5 separate regions of the Homo sapiens genome follow, and regions 2, 3, 4 and 5 are each linked to region 1. The links are contacts of gene promoters, found by promoter capture Hi-C in blood cells and fetal thymus (Javierre and others, 2016). All regions are on one chromosome and are shown on one strand. The core of a region is centred on a gene start or on the middle of the fragment in contact, and the rest is flanking DNA. Distances in the headings are between cores, read along the strand shown. Region 1 holds the start of FOXG1 (forkhead box G1). Region 2 has its middle 310 kb from the start of G2E3. Region 3 has its middle 300 kb from the start of PRKD1. Region 4 has its middle 270 kb from the start of PRKD1. Region 5 has its middle 220 kb from the start of G2E3.

Evidence for each region. Contacts are between HindIII fragments. The CHiCAGO score rates a contact against its expected background, and 5 or more counts as called.
Region 2: a fragment that was not itself captured here is called in contact with the fragment with the promoter of FOXG1 in region 1 in 1 of 17 cell types (M2 macrophages); the score reaches 6.0 in M2 macrophages.
Region 3: a fragment that was not itself captured here is called in contact with the fragment with the promoter of FOXG1 in region 1 in 1 of 17 cell types (M2 macrophages); the score reaches 7.0 in M2 macrophages.
Region 4: a fragment that was not itself captured here is called in contact with the fragment with the promoter of FOXG1 in region 1 in 1 of 17 cell types (erythroblasts); the score reaches 5.8 in erythroblasts.
Region 5: a fragment that was not itself captured here is called in contact with the fragment with the promoter of FOXG1 in region 1 in 1 of 17 cell types (M2 macrophages); the score reaches 5.2 in M2 macrophages.

What each region holds. Positions count from the first base shown.
Region 1 is chr14:28,764,850-28,768,036 of GRCh38, forward strand. It overlaps FOXG1 (forkhead box G1), which reads left to right and starts at 1,938. Exons shown (of 1, transcript NM_005249.5): 1 at 1,938-3,187. The coding sequence starts at 2,431. FOXG1-AS1 (FOXG1 antisense RNA 1) reads right to left here and starts at 470. Exons shown (of 7, transcript NR_125758.1): 1 at 311-470. RefSeq lists an enhancer at 1,069-1,593. The HindIII fragment of the contact is 9,211 bases long and covers 1-3,187 here.
Region 2 is chr14:30,246,502-30,249,405 of GRCh38, forward strand. No RefSeq gene overlaps it. Among named protein-coding and RNA genes, the nearest start is that of G2E3, 310 kb to the right of the region's middle. The HindIII fragment of the contact is 3,706 bases long and covers 1-2,904 here.
Region 3 is chr14:30,229,794-30,232,736 of GRCh38, forward strand. No RefSeq gene overlaps it. Among named protein-coding and RNA genes, the nearest start is that of PRKD1, 300 kb to the left of the region's middle. The HindIII fragment of the contact is 4,964 bases long and covers 1-2,943 here.
Region 4 is chr14:30,196,090-30,199,311 of GRCh38, forward strand. No RefSeq gene overlaps it. Among named protein-coding and RNA genes, the nearest start is that of PRKD1, 270 kb to the left of the region's middle. The HindIII fragment of the contact is 3,893 bases long and covers 1-3,222 here.
Region 5 is chr14:30,335,727-30,338,992 of GRCh38, forward strand. No RefSeq gene overlaps it. Among named protein-coding and RNA genes, the nearest start is that of G2E3, 220 kb to the right of the region's middle. The HindIII fragment of the contact is 3,002 bases long and covers 234-3,235 here.

The DNA of each region.
Region 1 (3,187 bases), core at 688-3,187:
TGGCATTCCTAATAGATGCATATTTAAAATTCACTAGCTATTTGTAATTATCTATTATTCTCTCCAGTTTCCTCCCCCCCCCCCAACCTTTTCTCTCTTTCTCTTTCTTAAGACTGGGGGTGGGGAGGATGGAATAACCCCCTATTATCCTGAGTATTCATCAACCGCATTCTTTATGTTACAATTTAACTTTAGGATCAAGCATAAGCACCAATTTTCCTTCCTTCGTTTTCTTAAATACCAAATCTGCCAGATATCTTAATGAAAGTTTATCCAAGTGAAGAAATGCTTACATTTTATAATTATTTACCTTCTAGAGGAAGGAAAAGGTGCCTTTCATTTATGCTTCTCCACCTCCCTCTTCTCTGGGGCTACATCCTCCGTAAAATGTGGTATGTTTCGTGCCCATGTGGGATGAAACAGCCTTTGATCAATGTGCTCCCCACTAAATTCCAATCCCTGGGAAATGCTGGGCCTTAGCCCTGCCCCTGGCCACGGGATCCTTTTAAAGCCCCCGATTCGCAATTTCCCCATTCACTTCAACCTCCAACCGAACCTTCCCAGTTCCAAAGCCCAAGAAGCTGGGACTGTGAGATCCACGTTCCCAAGGCTCCCCGGTGCTTTCCAGCAGCACTCAGGGTTGGCAAGAGCTGGCTTCAGTATACTGTTATTTCAGGAATGAGGCCCGCACAAAATAAAAGCATTTGAGAAACGGAAAGGAAAAAAAAGGAGTGAAAATAGGAAGGCTTAAAAAAAAAACCGGAAAGAAATAGACGCCCACCCTTATTTTCCCTCCAATGTCAACAAGCAAAACGAAAATATTTCCAGGGTGATCGCTCGCAGCTACCCGCTTCCAATTCGGATTAGAAGCTGAGGCTGGAGCGGCGAGGAGAAAACGACATCGAGTCACCCCGCGCGTGAGCGACGCTCTGGAGCAGGAGAGAAGGAAAAGGAAGAGACACACGTATATAGCATGTGTTACCTGATTTATTTCGAGATTGTTTGGTACTGTTTTCTCTCTGGGCACCTCTCATTTCGGAAGGCCATCAGAGGCGCCCACTACTGAGCGGCCCCGGCCGCCGCAGCAGCACCCGGAGCCCCAGTCCCGGTTTCCCCGCGGTGCCGGAGCCCGGAGCTCGCCGCCGCCCAGGCCTCAGGAATCGAGTAAGTAACCCCTGTTTGGCCCCGCGCTCCTCTGCCCACTTCCTCCTCCTCATCTCATCGCTCCCAAAGCTCTCCCACACCCTCCTCCCCCGAAGTAAAGGACACCCCCGCACACACGCCAGCGGTGGGCCTTATCTCCCCCCTTATCCAAAGCTGCGCTAGACTATTACCTACAAAGGGCACAATTTTCCTGCTGGCTCAGAAATGCCAGACACTGGCCTGCAAGGCCGACTCGGAAAAGTAGTGCCTCGCCTCTACCTCCTCCATTTCCTGCCCTCTCGCATCCTCTCCCTGCACTCCCACTCTTCCCACTACCACCACCACCCCCGCTTTCAAAAATAAAATTGGATACAAACTTTAATCACTAAGGACAAATATTGACGCTTAAACGAAAATGACCCAGTACAATGAGGAGGAAGCCGGAAATGTGAGCTATTGGCCCTAGGAGGGGAATTTCGGTGGAGCGGAGCCGGCGGGGTGGAGGGGGTGGCGGGGGCGCAGGGAAGGGCTGCGGCACCGCGTGCTCCCGCCGGCGTATCCCTACGCGGCTCCGCGCGGCCTCGGGGTCCGAGGCCCGCGGAGAGGGGGAGGCGAGCGCCCGAGGGGGCGGCAGCCGGCGGGCGGGGCGGGGGTGGGTGGGCCCGGCCCCTCCGATTGGTCGACGGCGAGAGAGACGCTCCCGCACGCCGCCAGCTCTGATTGGCCCAGCGGTAGGAAAGGTTAAACCAAAAATTTTTTTACAGCCCTAGTGTGCGCCTGTAGCTCGGAAAATTAATTGTGGCTATAGCCGCCTCGATCGCTGTCTCCCCAGCCTCGCCGCGGCCGCTCCGGGACGCGCCCGCCCGCCGCCCGGCTCTCCCCCCCTTTGGGCTGCTGCTGCTGCTGCTGTGACTGCTGCTGCGAGAGGAGGAGGAGGAGGAGGAAGCAGCGGGGGGGGGAGCGGGGGGTGGGGGGGGAGACCAAGAAGTACAGTTGGGAGCGAGGGAGCTTCACCCCCGGGGCGGTGGTTGTTTCTTTTTTCTTTCTTTCTTTTTTCTTTTCCTTTTTTTTTTTTTTTCTAATTCCTGAGGGGTGGTTGCTGCTTTTGCTACATGACTTGCCAGCGCCCGAGCCTGCGGTCCAACTGCGCTGCTGCCGGAGCGCTCAGTGCCGCCGCTGCCGCCCGCGCCCCCCGCGCCCCGTTCGGCACCCACCGGTCGCCGCCGCCCGCCGCGCCGCTGTCCCGCTCCCGCGCCGCCGCCGCCGTTTCCCCCCGACGACTGGGTGATGCTGGACATGGGAGATAGGAAAGAGGTGAAAATGATCCCCAAGTCCTCGTTCAGCATCAACAGCCTGGTGCCCGAGGCGGTCCAGAACGACAACCACCACGCGAGCCACGGCCACCACAACAGCCACCACCCCCAGCACCACCACCACCACCACCACCATCACCACCACCCGCCGCCGCCCGCCCCGCAACCGCCGCCGCCGCCGCAGCAGCAGCAGCCGCCGCCGCCGCCGCCCCCGGCACCGCAGCCCCCCCAGACGCGGGGCGCCCCGGCCGCCGACGACGACAAGGGCCCCCAGCAGCTGCTGCTCCCGCCGCCGCCACCGCCACCACCGGCCGCCGCCCTGGACGGGGCTAAAGCGGACGGGCTGGGCGGCAAGGGCGAGCCGGGCGGCGGGCCGGGGGAGCTGGCGCCCGTCGGGCCGGACGAGAAGGAGAAGGGCGCCGGCGCCGGGGGGGAGGAGAAGAAGGGGGCGGGCGAGGGCGGCAAGGACGGGGAGGGGGGCAAGGAGGGCGAGAAGAAGAACGGCAAGTACGAGAAGCCGCCGTTCAGCTACAACGCGCTCATCATGATGGCCATCCGGCAGAGCCCCGAGAAGCGGCTCACGCTCAACGGCATCTACGAGTTCATCATGAAGAACTTCCCTTACTACCGCGAGAACAAGCAGGGCTGGCAGAACTCCATCCGCCACAATCTGTCCCTCAACAAGTGCTTCGTGAAGGTGCCGCGCCACTACGACGACCCGGGCAAGGGCA
Region 2 (2,904 bases), core at 168-2,667, 1.5 Mb after region 1:
TTTATGTGAAGTACCTAGTCAAATTCATAGACAGAAAGTAGAATAGGGTTATCAAAGGTGGAGGGAGCAGGTAATGGGGAGTTACTGTTTAGTGGGTATGGAGTTTCAGTTTGGGAAGATGAAATTGTTCTGGAGATTTATAGTGATTATGTTTGCACAACAGTGTGAATGTACTTAATGTCACAGAATCGTACACTTAAAAATAGTTTAAAATGGTAAATTTTGTGCTATGTATATTTTCCCCAATTAAAAAAAAGTATGTATAAATGGCCAATAAACATTTGGGAAAAAATGAAAAAATTATAGAGTTAATCCAATATTAGGGTTAAAAAATACCCTTGTCCATAATTTTGGACACAAAGTCAAATAATATATTACAATTTTTAGTCTTAATGTGCATGATGCCCAAAACTTTAAGACTTTTATTTTGAGTATTGTTTTATCAAAAAGTCCCATATTAATCTTAGATAAACTCTTGTTTTCAGACTTAGGAACCAAACGATTATATCATATCACTAAATATTGGCTATCTTTATAACTAAATGTTCACTTCGGTGCCTCAGGAAGTCTAATGAAACCACCGTGATCAGCACTCCTAGCAAGGCTATCTTCTTTTTTAGAATGCATCCGTGCCTTGTATCAGATAAGTGAAGAGAACCTTATCAAGACAAATTGTGGCTAATGCATTCTCCTTTATGCATTTCTGGGCTAATGACCAGCCCCATTAAATATCACGCCAAATGGATTGGAAGTGCCACTGAGTGGGAAGAAGAAGACATTTTCCTCCTGCATAAGCACAGCCAATACAAACATCACCAAGACGAGGGCTGCTTTGCCATTTTCTTCCACATTCTGAGGTGTTCCTTTCACGTCTCGGGAGGTAGGAAACTAATAACCTGTCCGCAGAGACTCCAAACAAGCAAATGCTCTTTGTTGTTAGCTAGAATTAGGCTAACAGCAAATTTGATCTTTGGTTTTGAGGCCTTACCTCTTTACCCAAAAGTTAACTCTGATTTCAAATTGCTCCACTTCTCTGTTTTGTCAAGAAGCAGCAACAATCTACCACCACCACTGTTATTATGGCATTTCAATCACCTCGTTTCATTGTGATTTGAGAAAACACTTTGTTGAAACCCAAAGGAAAATCTGCCACGTTTCCATTCAGACATATGGCAGAAAAAAACCTTAATAACCAGTAATCAGAGTCGGCCTTCTTTGGGTGGAATCTGCTGCGGACAAAACAATTTATGCTGCATTGGATGAAAATAGTTCATCGATGCTATTCTCCAAGAGATACTAAAATAACTCCTTCTCATCTGATATCCCAAAACTGGGGGAGAAAGAGTTCAGATAATGTTGGGATCGATAAAGTCACAAAAGCAGAGTCATGTAGGAAATACATCTTGAAATTACTATCTTGCTCTTTTTATCACAGAACCAGCCAAAGGCCATTATAAAGGGTAGCATTACAACAAGTTTTAGTTCAGAGAATCATCGAAATTAAACATAACAAAGATATAATATATATCTCCCTAGATAGTGATTGCAATGATCGACAATCTGAAGTGTTTTTTTCTTTCAGAAAAGAACCTCTGATTATTCCTCATGGCTTAAATAATTCAGAATAGTGAATCATCAAAACTTATCTTTTAATATATTTTGAACGACATTTGAATATGAATATATAGTTTATAGAAAATTAGCTTAAGCAAATTAATGAGGCCTCATTAAAGTCCAAACTAGGTGAAATGGAGAAATACCCTCTTTCTTCATTATATATCAGACTTCATAACCTTCCATTCTCAGAATAGCCTCTCTTTCTGCCCATGCCTTATCACCCCCTCATACAAAAGTGCCCCTCTATCAAACTTTTCCAGAGATACGTGTTTCAATATCAAAGGTTTTCTCTGGATGCACAGACAATAGTGGGAGTTCTTATGTCAACAAAGCAAAAAGTAGGTAGTAGTTGTTTTCACTGACAATAGAGTATATCAGTATTTCCCAAACTTGGTTAGACATTAGAATGACCCAGAAAGCCCTTAAAAACTTGATGCTCAGGTTATATTCCACAGTAACTAAATCAAAATTTCTGTAAGTAGGATCCAAACAACAGTATTTTTTAAAGATCCCCAGGTAATTCCAGAACACAACCAAGTTTAGGAAGCATTGCCGTACCTATTAGAAATCAAACTTTGTTATTAATTATAGGCCAATAAGCTATCTCTTCATAGCAATAATCAACAATTGGCATTGTTTTGATTTCTTAGCATTATTAACTCAATGCCATACTATGGCCCCACTAAACATTTTCTCATAAAATATTTTATCATTATGGCTTCATTTCTGCTACCATGTTTTTTAACAGGGCCAGCATGGACTCTACCAACAGGAAAAAGTGTATTCACGGTGCCCCCTACCCCACAAAGGATTTATTTTTCCAGAATGGTTGTATGTTTTAAATGTTTAGTTTTCTAATATGGTTTGGGTTCTAGTACATTAGAGAGGAAGACCCAAACCACACCAATTGTAACATTTTATGTTTGTTTTCAGACTCCAAAAACTTCACTACTACATGGAAACATTGCACTTAACCTTTATTTTGCATCTTCCATTTTCTAGCTCATGCAAATGTCTTTCATTCAAAACTCTTCTTCCCCGTATTTCCATTAGTGATTTATGTCAATATAGCATTTTAATATGTATTTCCAGCACCCATTAACTTTTGTAAGAAAATTAATTTTTATGTTTTGATTAGAAAAATTTTAAAATTACCAGAGAATGCACACTTGTTTGACCATATTCCCCAGAATACTGCTTAAATAGCCAGTTTATTTTGCTTAAAGGCACTTGTGCTTTCTAATATATGTATGGTCAACCATTCTGGTTCCTTCTCTCAAGCTCTTT
Region 3 (2,943 bases), core at 47-2,546, 1.5 Mb after region 1:
GAGCTCAGACAGTGGGTAGGAAAGTTTTACCAAACACACTGCTGACTTTCTTGAGCCTTTCAAAGATATGAAATGGTGCTTTGTAACAGTAAGTTGAAAGCTGACATGATGTTATTTCTTTGAAGACTTTGTGAATAGCTATGTTCTCTGCCTTTTTATTTCCCTACTACCTAATACATAGAAAGTTCTTACTACTATTTTTTCTGCTGTGTTGAGAGACTCTTGTTTTCCACCATCACATTTTGACTTTCTTCCTCTGTGATCCTTAACTTACTCCACCTACAGTATAGTCATTTGAACACTCGTCTAACTCCCAACCTACCCCTACTCTTTCCATTCTCAAATAAAGCACCTTGAGGGCAGGGCCTATGTCTTTTTCATCTCAGAATCCTCCAAACTAACTGGCAAGGTGACTGGTACAATAAATTTAGTATTTGTTGAACTGAAGCCTTCTGAAAGTGTCCTTAAAAGCAACTCTGTGGGAATAAACATCGGAGTATAAGTAGAGATCTGATAGCGGAAGGTGAATAAAGTTTAAATTTCTCAGATGTGCATACCAGGCTCTTGGGCATAATGAGGTTTTTGTTATCAGTGTGAGACAAGCAGCTAAAATGAGAACTTATTTCTTTAAAACTTGGTTGTTTATTGCTTCTTATTGTTCATTTGGGTAAATTTTGTTTCTCCTCTTGGTTGGCAAGCTCCTTTAATATGACCTATGCATCAAATTGATACTATGATAATATTATATATCATATTGCTAGAATATGATATTACTCATGATACATGATATTATATTTGATGCATAGGACATATTAAACAATGTTTGATTAAAGAAGGGAATGTAGGTGACCAAAAAATCTAGGAAATATTGTTTTTTAATACATAAATTACAATAAGAGATCAGTTGATACTGTAGCACAGGGTTCTGGACTATAGTCTGCAAAGGTTGAAAAGAAGAAGACTGAAAAGATGTATACTTATGGTTGTTCTGCTCTACAGTTTATTCAAAAAATTGATAGTGGTTTAAAAAACCTAGTTTATTCCACATTTATTCATTCCAAAAGTAAGGTCTTTAAACATTATCAGGGTTTACTCATCAGTGTTGATGCTGTTGTTCACATAAGAGCATCATTACGTCATTTACTCACTGACTGAGGGAATAACTTGGTTGAATTATTTTCCCTGTTTGATTTAAGTGAGGAAACTGCGCACACCATTTCTGTTTATTTTACGCACAAAGCCTAATAATATAGTTATTCTACAAAACATGAAATATTTTCAAGAATGTGTTTAAGATAAAAAAAAAGATCCTTATATGATAATCCATACTAAAACAGAGGTCAACACTGTCTTCTTCCTCCACAGCTCAAAATAAAGGAAAGATTCACTTTTATACAAACGTGACTTTACAAATGCTGCTCCCTTCGTTTCAGTTGTTTCTCAACCATTCTTTGCCACCTTTTCTGTGAAATATTATCTGACTTTTACTTTCTACTCAAAAATAGCCCACTGTTTCCTCCATGGTCCCATAACATGTTTTACGTACTTTTATTATAGAACTTCATTAATGAACTTATCCATTCATTCAACAACTATAGTGTGGCTTACCATTTTTCAGCCATCATGTGTGGCATCAGGAATATGGTGAGAATCATGATGTCAGCTCATCCAATGATGGTGTGATTGTTTTTCTCTGTCTCTCCCATGCCATACACACCTTAAGTATGAAGAGGTAATCTGTTCAATCAACTGAATGAGCCAAGGGCAGAAGATAAAGCCCACAGCCTCGTCTAGGACGCCTCCACCTTCTCTTGTTGGAATCCTTTTTCTCCTTCTGCTCTAAAGTTAACATTTCTGCTCCTTCCTCTACTCCTCTCCTGTGACCATTCCTGATACAATCTCACTCATCATGCATAAAATAAAGCCCATTATTTTCTCTATTCAAACATTCACCATCTCCCCAGTTTCTCAAGACAAACCTGAAGTTCATCTTCAACTTCCATCTTTCCCTAGCCTCCTTACTAAACTACTATTGTGTTCACCCTCCTCTCTAGATTTCCACTGGCCCTACTTTAGTTTTCTTTTCATCTGCCTGCACTATGTCCATACATCTTCATTGATCGTGCTGATTGTGATCTATCCCCACACCCATTCATTTTCTACTTCATGCCAGAGTTTTCTCTCTAAAATACGAATCACATAATTTATTTCTTACCACCCCTCTCCTCATTAAAAGTTACTGATGGCTTTTCATCACCTTCATAATCCAGTATGAAGAGATCCAGGCCACTCTCTTAGAGCACATAAGACTCTTCACGAGTTGGCCTCCCTTTTTGCCAAACTCTCTAAACTCACATTTTTCTCACTCCCTCTGCTCAAAAACATACACTAAGGTAGCTAGGGTTGCCTTTAGGATAATATGATTGTGAAAGTCCAAGTCCTCTCACATGTCATATGCCACGCTACTTAGGGAACTAAATAAAGGATGAGAACTTTGTCAAGCTCTGTCCAAGGGAAAGTGATTCTCTTCTTATGGACATGGATATTTCAATCACTATAACAGAATAAGAAAAACAATGAACATCATGAATTAAGTTGGGGCATCTTTTGAAAACTTTCTTTCCTTTCAGGACACTCAGCTCTTGTGCAGACTGTTTCTGTGATTTCTAGGACAATCATGGAATTTTAAAACTAGAGGATATACTAATATAATCTAATCCAATCTCTTCATTTCACAGGTGAGAAAACTCAAGCCCCAAACACTAAGAGATTTTTCCAAGCTCACACAACAAGTAAATATCCTTTTCCTTCCTCAGCCTCAACAAAAATAAAAGGAAATGGATTTTATAGTATTAAACAATAGGTTTGTTTATGCATTTTTCTGAGTAAACTCATTCATATGCCAAGGCCTCAGTTCTAATGTTGTTTTACCGCTAAAACCCA
Region 4 (3,222 bases), core at 679-3,178, 1.4 Mb after region 1:
CCGCTTCTTCACAAACCTCCCCTTATGCTGTGGTGGGAAGTCATTGCCTCATTAGCAAGCCAGTTCCTATTTCTTTTGGTTTGAATCCATCAGATACCAACGTTCAAATTTCCTGCACTCTCTCTTCTGAAACATATAAAATGACTCTATCTGAAATACCATAAAATGTCATTAGAAGGCTCTTCACAATGCCAAATTTGGTTACATGGAATGTCAAATCACAGTGTATCAGGATCGAAACAGCACTGCTAGGAATGTCATTCTGTCCCCTCCCACCTGTGTTTTAATGGAGTCACTACCCCCAAAATTCCTATGTAGAAATCTTAATGGTGGTGGTATTAAGAGGTGAGGCCTTGGGAGATATTAGGTCGTGAGGGCAGAGTCCTCATGAATGGGATTAGTGCTCTTATAAAAGAGGCCTGAGGGAGCCTGTGAGCCCCTTTGCCCGCCACCATGTGAGGACACAGCCAGAAGGCGCCATCTCTGAGGAACAGGCCCTCACCAGATATGAAATCTGCTGGCACCTTGATCTTGGACTTACTAGCCTCCAGAACTACGAGAAATAAATTTCTGTTGTTTGTACATGACACAGACTCAGGTAGACTATTATAACAGCCCAAATGGACTAACACATGTGTTAATGACCCAAATGATCTCAAGATAGCTGCCTGTTGTCCAGAAGTAATTAAGACACTGTGTCATTTATGAGCACATTGCCTACACATTTGAAGTCACCAAAAGCATTTCTAAACTCAGGGTCCTTCTGCCTGACACGAACCCATAATGGCAGTTCTAGAACCAACTCTGCTGCTGACTAGCTGGGTCAATGCAGTAAAGTTACTTGGCCTCTGCATACCTTAGTCTTATCATTTATAAAGTGGAGGTAATAATAGCATCTACCTCTGAGGATTAAATCAGTTAATAATATAAAACCTCAGAACAGGGCTTGACACATAGTAAGAATTCCAGAGAACAGCTGTGGGAAAGTTTGAGTTCTATAATGGAAGAGTCCCATTTCAAAATATAGGCTTCTCTGTGTAGGGCTACTGCCACTCACTCCTAATTCTTTGCCTCTGAAGTGCAGCTTACTTGGAAAGGTACATGAGTCAAACTATGTTATCCGCAACCTAAAAAGGATGAGGTAGGGCAGGGAGGAATATGAATTCCCAGCAAAATCTGTATGTCTTGTCTGTGAAGAAAGCTGTATGCCACCAGGGAGTATTGACTTTTTTTCTTTCTTCATACTGATGGATCTTGAATTTCCAAACCACAGGCCACCTTGTCCCTTGGTATTAATGTCACAGGCCAGAGCTGTGATACATTTTATTATTAAAGGTGGGCTTTGCGTAAGCCTTAGATATTAGTTCTCAAAGCCTCCCACATGACTACATGAGAGTATTTGCAGAGCACCCTAAAAAATATATCTTCTGAGCCCCACCTCTGCATATTTTCATTCAGGAATTGTTGGGGTGGGGCATGGGATCTGGCAATTCTGAGGCATAGTCCAGGTTTGAGAACTGCCTTTTTTATTCATCTAAGAAGAAATATCCATATTCTCTAGGAGTATTAATTTTCTACATCTAATTACACTGATGAGTCTTTGAGTTACCTAGGCTGTTGGAGAATTTCTTTATCATGTTCCTAAGAGACCACTCCTCAGAACTCATCAACCGCAATCACACGTTGCATTTAACAGCAAGAAGTCTAGCCTAGCCATCTGATATGGTTTGGCTGTGTCCCCACCTAAATCTCATCTTTAAATGTAGCTCTCGTAATTCCCACATGTTGTGGGAGGGACCTGGTGGGAAATAACTGAATCATGGGGGTGGTTTCCCCCATACTGTTCTTGTGATAGTGAATAAGTCTCACAAGATCTGATGGTTTTATAAGGAGAAACTCCTTTCACTTGGTTCTCATTCTCTCTTGTCTGCCACCATGTAAGATGTGCCTTTTGTCTTCCACCATAACTGTGAGGCCTCCCCAGCCACATGGAACTGTGAGTCCATTAAAACTCTTTTTCTTTGTCAATTACCCAGTCTCGGGTACGTCTTTATCAGCAGTGTGAAAACAGACTAATACACCATCTTACAGACCATAATAGATCTCTGCAGATTCATTTTCTCCTTCCCTCTAATCTCATGGTCACAGTTTTTGGCAGGACTGACCCATCTCTAGCTCCAGTGTTGTTGTAGAAAGGGTGCTGAATGGCTCAAGCACATCTATGTGTCCTATCTCCTTGACCACATGGGTGGATATGAATTTAATTTGGGCAAATGTTTTATTTTTAGAGGATTCTTGAAAGGGAGGTTTTTCTCCCTCTCTCTCTCTTTCTCTCTCAGTAACTACCATAAAAGACACTCTGTCCCACCAAAAATGAATGATAAAGCATTTAATACTACCCTGGATGCTGTTAACAGAGATCTTGAAACTATGAGGGAAGTTCACTTCAGAATAAAGTTTATAATGTGGAAAATCAAATAAAGATACAGAAACAACTCATATACCAAGTGATATCACTCAGCAACTAGATCAAGTCTCACCTGAAGCTCACCTTACCACTGAACATTAACTATATAAACCAAGAGATTTCTCCTATTATTAAACCTGATTCAAGTTGCATTTTATAGTCTTTAAAACAAAAGGCATCCTTAGTGATTCTTATCTGTATTTGTCCATTCTCATGCTGCTATAAAGAAATACCTGAGACTGGGCAATTTATAAAGAAAAGAGGTTTCATTGACTTAGAGTTCAGCATGGCTGGAGAGGTCTCAGGAAACTCACAATCATGGCAGAAGGGGAAGCAAATACATCCTTCTTCACTTGGCGGCGGAAAGGAGAAGTGCCCAGCAAAAGGAAGAAAAGCCCCTTATAAAACCATGAGATCTCATGAGAACTCACTCACTATCATGAGAACAGCAGCATGGGGGTAACCACACCCATTATTCAATTACCTCCCACTAGGTCTCTCCCATGACACGTGGGGATTATGGGAACTACAATTCAAGAGGATATTTGAGTAGGAACACAGCCAAACCATATCATCCCACCCCTGGCTCCTCCGAAATTTCATGTCCTCACATTTTAAAACAATCATGCCTTCCCAACAGTCCCCCAATGTCTTAACTCATTCCAGCATTAACCCAAAAGTCTAAGCCCAGCAGATCCAATGGTGCTTGGTGTGTCAGTGGTAGATACGGAAGCTGTTTGGCACCTCTGGCAGGC
Region 5 (3,266 bases), core at 485-2,984, 1.6 Mb after region 1:
ATGAAATTGAACTCTCAATTTTAGGTTTGGAAGGGGATTTTAAGATATCATTAAGATATCATCTGAAGATTGTTACCATACAAAGAACAGTGGGAAAACCCCTTATTTTATATATTTGCATTTTTCTTGCCTTCTACACTTCTTTTATAGAGCATGTAGTCATGCTAACTGAAGCACCAGAGTGTAGCATGCAACAACATGGACAACATGTCTGAATTTGGTTAAGCCCACAAAGCTTGAACAATCATTCAAGATATTCACCTAAAGACCTGGCTAATGTTACCCATTCTTGGCATCAAAATCTGTGAAATGATCACCTCTAGTAAATTTCTATTTTTAAATCTATTGAGTGAAGTGAAAAGCGTTTCACTATCAGTACCTTATTCTTTAATTATAAAGCGCTATTGAGTTTCAGTTATCATCTCAAAGAGATGGAGGAAAAGGGAAATAAGTTCTAAGTTAATACTTTCCATGTTGCTGGTGGGCCAGGGAGGAGGAGGTGAATTCATTTTCCATATGTGATAATATATTTTAGCAGAAATCCTTTGTTTCATTTTCGTTTTTAATTTGAATTGACAGCATAAACAATAGCCTGGATTCCTGCTTCCTGCTAAGCTATTTATTTTTGTAAGACCTATGTTGTCATATTAAGACTCTTTAATTTTTTTCTGATTACTCAATAAATCTCTGGTACTGACGGAATTCATGCCATTTATTCCTATACATCACAAATTAGTTGATTATATAATATTAACATATAAATGATAGTATTTTAATTTTGTGTGTGTGTGTGTGTGACAGAGTCTTGTTCCATCGCCCAGGCTGGAGGGCAGTGGCACGATCTCGGCTCACTGCAACCTCCACCTCCCGGGTTCAAGCGATTCTCCTGCCTCAGCCTCCTAGGTAGCTGGGATTACAGGCGCCGCCACCACATCCGCTAACTTTTGTATTTTTAGTAGAGACGGGGTTTTACTATGTTGGTCAGGCTGGTCTGGAACTCTTGACCTCGTGACCCACCTACCTCAGCCTCCCAGAGTGCTGGGAATACGGGCGTGAGCCATTGCGCTCGGCCAGTATTTTAACTTTTATGAAAAATGCTTCCAATGTTTTCCAAACATTAAGATATATCGGCCTGGCTTGGTGGCTCACGCCTGTAATCCCAGCACTTTGGGAGGCCGAGGGAGGGGGGGGGTGGGTCACCTGAGGTTAGGAGGTCGAGCCCAACCTGGCCAACATGGTGAAACCCTGTCTCTACTGAAAACACAAAAATTAGCCAGGCGTGGTGGCGGGCGCCTGTAATCTCAGCTACTCGGGAGGCTGAGGTGGGAGAATTGCTGGAACCCGGGAGACGGAGGTTGCAGTGAACCAAGATCGCACCATTACACTCCGACCCGGGACAACAACAGTGAGACTCCATCTCAAAAAAAAAAAAAAATAATAATAATAATAAATAAAAGATATATCACTACTCGCAAAGTCTTAACTAAGATTGTTCCCTACATTGAAGCCACTATTTTCTCGCTGATAATCACGCTCTCAAAGCCCTAAAGGGTTGCACAAATTGTTACTCCCCATTATCTCTTTCTTAATATCTGGCCATTTATTTTTATCATCATCTCTGTCTTAAAAATTCAGCTGTCTGAGTTTTCTTTTTAACCTTTTCCAATCAACAGTACCTCCCAAAAATGAGGAATAAGGAGAAAGAGGAAAAGAAGCAAAAATAGAAGAAAAGTTTTGAAAGTTTGTTTCTAGTGGCTTTGATGAGCAGTTAAAAATAACCAACTTTGTGCTTTTGAATTTGCTGGCGTTGCTTGACAAGAATGGGTGGGGGCCCAGGAAGCAGTCGTTGGACCTCTGGCTCTCTGCTCATCTGTTACTGTATTTACCCAGAGAGTGCTAAAGCAACATCGCTGAATACTTGGTCACAACCTCTTTCCTGTTCTTCTTGTTCTACTGCCTCAATTTGGCCTCAGAAAAAGTGAGGGAAAAGAGGAATTAAGAAGTACAAAATGGGGGGCGGGGAGATCCCCGCCCCATGGAATGGATCTTTGCCCTTTAAATATCCCATAAAGAGTTTTGGTTATCATACTTTGCAATCCTATTCAGTCCTTCAAAAATTTACTTTCAAAGAAAGATGTAAGCCCATAGAAAAGCATTCCACCTGATTCCCAGAACTTAGCACAAATTCTGGCATAATCCAGTCTTAGAAAAAATAATATAAAGAAGTATACAAGAGCTCAAATATAATATGAAATTGTAATAATACAAATGATATCAACAGGTTCTCCATGCTAAGTGCTTCAGAAATGCATCATTCTTTTTCTAAAGCTCTGTGGAGCTGAGACAAAATTCTTCCCCAAAACAGCAGAAAAAGTGAATGATGACTAACTAGAGTCATTTGCTCCCAATTTTCTGACCAGCCTGTGCTGTGTAGGAGCCCTGCCTCACTCCCACCTTTGGTGTTTGGGTCAAGACTCTGCAGGCAAGCCCTGTTATCTAGAAACCATATCTTAAGGTGTCAAGTGTCATAAAGCTGACCAACTTATAATCCTGTATTTGTCTCTCAAACACCCTTGGTTTTATCATGCATGGAAGCCATCTCACAAACAGCAAAGCAGAGAGGAATAAAGGTTTTTAAATATATATACAAAGCAGAGAGGAATAAAGGTTTTTAAATATATATATATATAATCAGGCCACATTGAAAGAGCTAAACACTGGACACTTAAGCAGCAAAAATCAGTGTGATATGTACAATAACAAGAGTAACTGCAAAACAAAAGTGTGTTTGTTCAATGACCCCACTCTAAATAATCCTACTCTCTAAAGTTGCAAATAAAGAATAAATAAGACTATGTGCCATGTTCTCCTTTATTCTTGATGCTGTCCAGAATAGGTAAATTGTCCTGTTTTAAAGTCGGGTCTCTTACTAAAAAAGCCAAGGTCTCAATGCAGGATTGACGGTAGTCACACGAAGTTAAGGGGTTGGTTGATACCTGGTAAAGATTATGTGAGCTGGGCCATCAAGTTAGTTTATTTCAAAGACCCCCAAATATGTGGTCTGTCCTCAAAAAAATAAACATTTTTAAAACCAAAATTGTATAAAATATACACCGAATACAAGTTAAACTAAGGAAGAACAATAGTGACATTAACTATGCCATCAGCCCAGACACTCACCCACAGAGCTAGAATCTTCTGAGCTCATTTTAATGACTGTTAAGTCTTTCACTAAAGCTTCAATACATCAAATATATTCATTATCT